2 separate regions of the Homo sapiens genome follow, and region 2 is linked to region 1. Evidence: promoter capture Hi-C in 16 types of primary human blood cells and fetal thymus (Javierre and others, 2016). All regions are on one chromosome and are shown on one strand. Each heading gives the region's core, a stretch centred on a gene start or on the middle of the fragment in contact. The rest is flanking DNA. Distances are from core to core; before and after follow the strand shown.

Region 1 (2,956 bases), core at 215-2,714:
GCTTCATCCTGGAAGTGATGAGGAGAGTGTAAGTGCAGGGGTGAGGCAGCGTGAATGTGCATGAGTGTGCACGTTTGCAGGGCAGGAGGAGGAGGTGCTGAACCTTAATATGAGGAGGATCCTGCAGGAGTACCCCCCTCCCCAACCCCTGTCCCATCCCTAACCTTCCCCCTTCCAGTCAAGGGCATAGCTTCCTCACCCTCTCCCTCCCTCCAGTTCAAAGGTTCCTTAGTGACAGGCTGTGCCTAATGTACAGATGGGGAAACTGAGGCCCAGGAACAATGGGAGGGTCCAGAGACCCTTGTGTAGAACTTGTGCAGGGCTCAGACCCAGACTTCTGGCTCCAGCCCACCAGGTTCACCTAGCTAGATGGCTCAGAGAGGGTGGGCAACTCACCTGAGGCACAGAGCAAGATCCTGACGGGCCCTGCCTCACAGCTGTCCTCAGGCAGCCCTGATGCTCACCACGGGGTGCGGTGGGGTGGGGCAGGGTGAGGACAGAACTGGCCAGTCACGGCGTGCCCAGGTGAGTCAGCGGCTGCCCCTGTGGCGCTCTAACCAGTAGCCAGACCTGGTCTCTCCTCTGCATTCCTGGCCTCTGTCCACGCTAGGTCCCTCCCGGGCAGGGTCACTGGGGCCTTCCCTGTCCTCTCCCAGGCCTGGCTCCTTAGGCCCCTGACACACCTTGTCGTGACACTCACTCACTCTGGTATTTCCTGGTCTGAACAGGCAGGGAAGTTCTGCCTGCTGTGGAGGCTTTTTCATGGGCTGCCGTGGCAGCCCCTTCGTTGTCTGGTGCCCAGTGGGGGAGAGTAGAGACACGCACTGCCCCAGGGAGGGGGCGCTGAACTGTCACACCTGATCCCTCAGTCTCATGCTCGCCTCTCCCCGCTGCACCCTTCCTCGGCCCCACCATGGCTACAAGCCTCTTGTCCTAGACAAGCACCCCTCCCTGCTGTCGCATATGTCCCAGCTTCCCTTCCTCTCCCTGCCCAGGCACACACTCAGTCGCTGGAGTTTCCCAGACCCGAGCTCCTGTTCCGGCCGCCAGGCATTTGCCATGCCGCTCCCATGCGAAAAGGCCACCTCCTGGAATCCCGGGTCGGGCCCTTCCGCCCTAACCAGCCGGCGTCACCTCCTCCTGGCAGTCTCTCCTGCTGGCTGGGGCCCCGTGGCCCTGCCACCACGGCTCAGGTCAGGCCCGGGGCGCTGCCCCGAACCCAAGCAGGCTAGCAGCCAGGCAGGGAGGACGACGCTGTGAGCGGGGTATCTTACGAGGGACTCGGACGGCCGGGGGATGACTGCCGCCGGGACCAAGGAGCTGGGCGGGGACCGCAGCAGCCGAGGAGGCGGGAGCCCCCACCTGGACGAGCTAAGCGTGGAGCGCAGACACCCGTCCGCAGACGCGCGCCCTTCGTCGCGCCCTTACCTGAGCGCTGTGGTTGCCCCGCGCCGGGACTGCCTGTGCGGCTCCTCGCTCGCACCCCCACCCTGCCCCCTGCCAGTCCCGCCCCCTGCCAGCCCCGCCCCCTTCGCCCAGCCCCGCCCCGCCCCGCCTCCGGGTGTTGCTCTGGAGTTGCGGGGGCCACGGGCGGGCCACCGAGGAGCTGGCGCGCGGTATTGATCCGTCCCGCCGCCCCAAGCCTCTCCTGAGGCCTCCCTCTGGCGTCCCCCGGGATCCGGAGGCCCCTGGGACCCGGCGCGGGGAGGAAAAGTGGGAGTCTTGACCCCTCCGCCCCCTACGCACCCACGCGCACACTCAGGCTCGCCTCTCGCGCCCCGCTTCCCCTGCAAGGCTCCGAGGCCGCCGTGCCACCACCTCGCCCCGCCAGTCAGTCGCTCTGCGAGCCTGTGGTGCAGCCCCGTGACCTCCCGGGTCTGCCCTGAGTCACAGAAGCCAGCACACGCGGAGCGCTGTGTGGGTTCGTGGAACTTGGAGCCTGTAGAGGGGTATACTGAGGCGCCCTGCGGCCCCCTGGGCTGGGTGTCCACGGCCGGCCGCCCCTCCTGTGCGACCTTGGGGAAGTCCCCTTTCCTCCCCACTCCTGAGTCTCAACAGGCCTAGTAGAGCATGAAGCCGGCCGCGTGTGCTTTGTGCGAAGGCCTGAGACCTTGGAAAGGGTGGCTGAAGACTTATCTGGGACAGACCCCCCGGGAGCGGGAGGGAACTTAGTTCAAACCTGTAACAAAGAAGCCCCCCGTCAGCAGCCTGATTCCCCCTCTGGCCACCAGGTTAGTCACCCATTGCTCTCAGTGGCACTCAGGTTCCAGTGAGGGGGAGGCTCAGGGTCCAAGGCGGCCGTGGAAGAGCAGAAAGGGTGGCCCACCAGCCCCCTACTCAGCCCCCTACTGAGGAGGTGGGAGGCATCCCCCAACCTGCCAGGCTGAAGAGACCCCCAGTGGAGGTAAGTAGGGGCCTGGGGCCTGCCAAGCTCATCCCCTGGCTCCCTTGGGTTGTTGCGAGGTGGGAGTTTACTGTCTGCCAAGCTGCACATCACCCCTTGGAGGGTTTCCAGCCTGGGACCCTTGTCTGAGTGACTGCAGGTCCCAGTGACCTCACCCTTTTGCCCCACATTGCTCTCCTCCTGGGTCCCAATCCTGCAGAGCCGCCCCTTCCTGCTTCTCCATCCCTCCCCACATTGCCAAAGCCCGCCCTAGCTCTGGCCTCCCCTTTTCCAGCCTTGTTTTCTTGCCCCCTTCTGCACCCCCTGCTGCCTGAGGGGCTCCACTCCCAAAGGCCTTGCTCCTCTGGTCCCTGCCTGCTAGAGGTGTTGCTGTGTTGGTGGGTGGGGGCTACCTCAAGGAGGCTTCTGGTGAGGTGTCCCTCTGGCCCTCTGGGAAAGCCTCCCCTCCCCATGCCCTCCACCCCCAGGCTCCGGACCTTGGCCCCCACTCCCCTTCACAGCCCTGTTGGCCTGCGGGACTGTCTGCTGGGGCACTTGGCTCCCTGAGTCTAC
Region 2 (2,956 bases), core at 239-2,738, 220 kb before region 1:
TTTCCTGGGACATAAAACAAACCTCAACAATTTTTTAAAAATTGAAATCATAAAAATTTATTCTTTGATCACAATAAAATCAAACTAGAAATCACTAGCAAAAAGATAGCAGAGAAATCTCCAAACAGTTAGAAACTAAATATCACACTTCTAAATCATCAGTGGGTCAAAGAGGAAACCTCAAGTAAAACTTTTTTCAAATACACTGAACTTAATGAGAATGAAAATACAGCATATCAAAATGTGTGGGATGCTGCTAAAGCTGTACTCAGAGGGAAATTTGTAGCACCAAATGATTACATTAGAGGAGGAAAAGCCTCATATCAGTAATCTAAACTGCCACCTCAAGGAACCAGAAAAGGGAGAGTAAAATAAACCTAAAGCAAGCAAAAGAAAGAAAACAGAAGCTATCACAACAGATCCTAAAGACAATGGAAGGATAACTCAAGGACTACTAAAAGATCTCTACACACATACATTTGACAACTGATATGAAATTGACCAATTTCTCCAAAAAAACAAACTATTGCAACTCACAATATGAAACAGATCATCTGAATTAAGAAACAGAGCTCATGATTTTAAAACTCTCAAAAAAGAAATCTTCAGACTCAAATGGTTTCACTGTCGAGTTCTACTAAACATTTAAATAATTATCACCAATTCCACACAACCTCTTCCAAAACCGAAAAGAGGAAATACTCTCCAATACATTCCATGAGGCCCGTTTGTTAGCAAGAGAGAAAAAGGAGAGGGTCATCTCTGTTATTCTTGGGAGAAACTCCCTATGAGATGTCAGTCACTTTCATCTGCTCTCCCCCTAAACACACACACACACACACACACACACACACACACACACACACACACACACACCCTCTCTTCATCTACTCTCCAACTCTATGGCCCTGCAAGGCATTACCATGGGAACCATGTGGCTCCTTTGATCCAGCTGCAGCCAATTGACCATTAGAGACCACCCAACTCAAGCTGGCCAAGTAATCTTTTTTAAGTTAAAAAAAACTCTCATATGGAGAAATATAAAACATAAATGTACAATTGAGCAAATTATCCCAAAGAACACTCATGTAACCACCACCCAGGTCAAAGAAAACTGCTAACATTCAAAAACCGCTTATGCCTCTGCTCAACCCCACACCATCTCCCAACCCCTAAAGCTAGCTACTACTATAATTTCTACACTACACCTTAGATCTGCCTACTTCTGAATTTTATATAAATGGAATCATATAATATGTATTCTTTTGTATTTGATTTCCTTCATTCAACATTCTGCTTGTGAGATCATCCTTTAATTCATTTTCTAATTTTTATTTCATTTGGTAATAATTGCTAGTATTAGAAATACAATCTATTTTTGTATTTATCCTTCTGTTTGACAAGCTTATTAAATTCACTTATAAAATCTAATTACTTGGGAGTTTCCACTAACATAATAATGAGAGCTTTATCCTTTCTTTCCAGTGATTTTGCACTAGATGGGACTTTCCGTACAATGTTGAACAGATATGGAGATAACAGCATCCGGGTCTTGTTCCTGATCTCAGAAGGCAAGCTTTCAACATTGTCCCCATTAATATGATATCTATTTGCTGTTGGCTTTTTTGTAGATATGTAGATTCTATAGAAACTTTTGTAGATTAAGGAAGTCCCTTTAGATAGTTAGTTATAAACATGAATGGATGTTGAATTTCAGCATCAACTGAGATAATCATTTGATTTTTCTCTTTGGTTATGAATCATACCAATTTATTTTCAAATACCAAGCCAAACTTACATTTCTCTTGCAGTCTGTAAATGACAATATTTGTCTTTTAAAAACACACTTTTTATTAAAGTGTAGCATACATATGCATATATAACAGCAGATGCACAAATCATACATGTAGAGTTTGATGAATTTTTAAAATTTGAACACCTCGCTAAAAAACAGCTCTCAAATAAAGTAAGAGAAGATTACCCGCCCACAAAAACTCTATACATGCCTCTTTCCAATCACTACCCCAGAGGTGATCACTATCCTGACATCTAACACAATGTATTCATTATGACTGTGTGTGAAGTTTTTATAAATGGAATTGTATAGAAGGTGCCTGAGGTTTTCTGTTTAAAATTTTGTTTATTAGATTCTCCAATGTTGTTCCATAAAGAAATAGCTCTTACATGCTCACTTCTGTATAATCTTTATGTATGTGAGTGTACCAAAGTTACCTGTCTATTCTATTGGTAATAGATATTTTGGTCGTTTCTAACTTGGGGTTATTACAATGGTGCTGAAGCGAACATATGTATTCTTTTCTGTTGGTCATGTACTTAGGAATGGAGTTTTACAGCATATGACTACGTTCTGCTTTAGAAAATTCTGCTAGTTTTCCAAAGTTAATTGTAGCAATTCATATTCCCACCAATGTATATGAGAGTTCTAGGGGCTTCACATCCTTGCCAACACTGCCATTGTCTGTCTTTTTCATTTCAGCCACTCTGTTTGGGAATGTCTTTTGTCCATTGTTTGATTATTTGGTAAGGCTTTTTCTCATTGGCGGATAGTTCTTTCAATATTCTTCAGAGTCACCATTTCCCTCCACTTGCCTCTGTGAGGGAGCCCAGGGCTCCTCCTCCCTCAGCTCTTCTAAGCCCAGATGAAGCCTGGCCCTTCTGAGCACATCCCAAGGCCACACCTGCATTCTAGGCGACTCCCTTGTCCCTTTGATTCACTGGGTAGTCTGGTGCCTGAAAGGCAGGGTCAGTGATGAGAGTGGTTAAACATCGCAGGCAGGGGAGTTTGAAACCAGCTCTACCTCTTCCCCACTCCCCAGATCTAGCCACGTCATTCAGCCTGTCTCAGCTTCAGTGTCCCCATGTGAAAATAGGAATACTAAAAGCATCTCCCTCATAAAATTGTTAGAACTTAATGAAGTAACTTATAAAGATGCTT

The links. Contacts are between HindIII fragments. The CHiCAGO score rates a contact against its expected background, and 5 or more counts as called.
Region 2: a contact is called between a fragment that was not itself captured here and the fragment with the promoter of ALS2CL in region 1, in 1 of 17 cell types (M1 macrophages). The highest score is 5.7, in M1 macrophages.

What each region holds. Positions count from the first base shown.
Region 1 is chr3:46,692,215-46,695,170 of GRCh38, forward strand. It overlaps ALS2CL (ALS2 C-terminal like), which reads right to left and starts at 1,465. Exons shown (of 26, transcript NM_147129.5): 1 at 1,429-1,465. It also overlaps a transcript of TMIE not described here. RefSeq lists enhancers at 29-820, 2,402-2,956 and silencers at 1,265-1,559, 1,290-1,539, 1,690-1,769. The HindIII fragment of the contact is 12,869 bases long and covers 1-2,956 here.
Region 2 is chr3:46,474,692-46,477,647 of GRCh38, forward strand. It overlaps a transcript of LTF not described here. Among named protein-coding and RNA genes, the nearest start is that of LTF, 11 kb to the left of the region's middle. The HindIII fragment of the contact is 172 bases long and covers 1,403-1,574 here.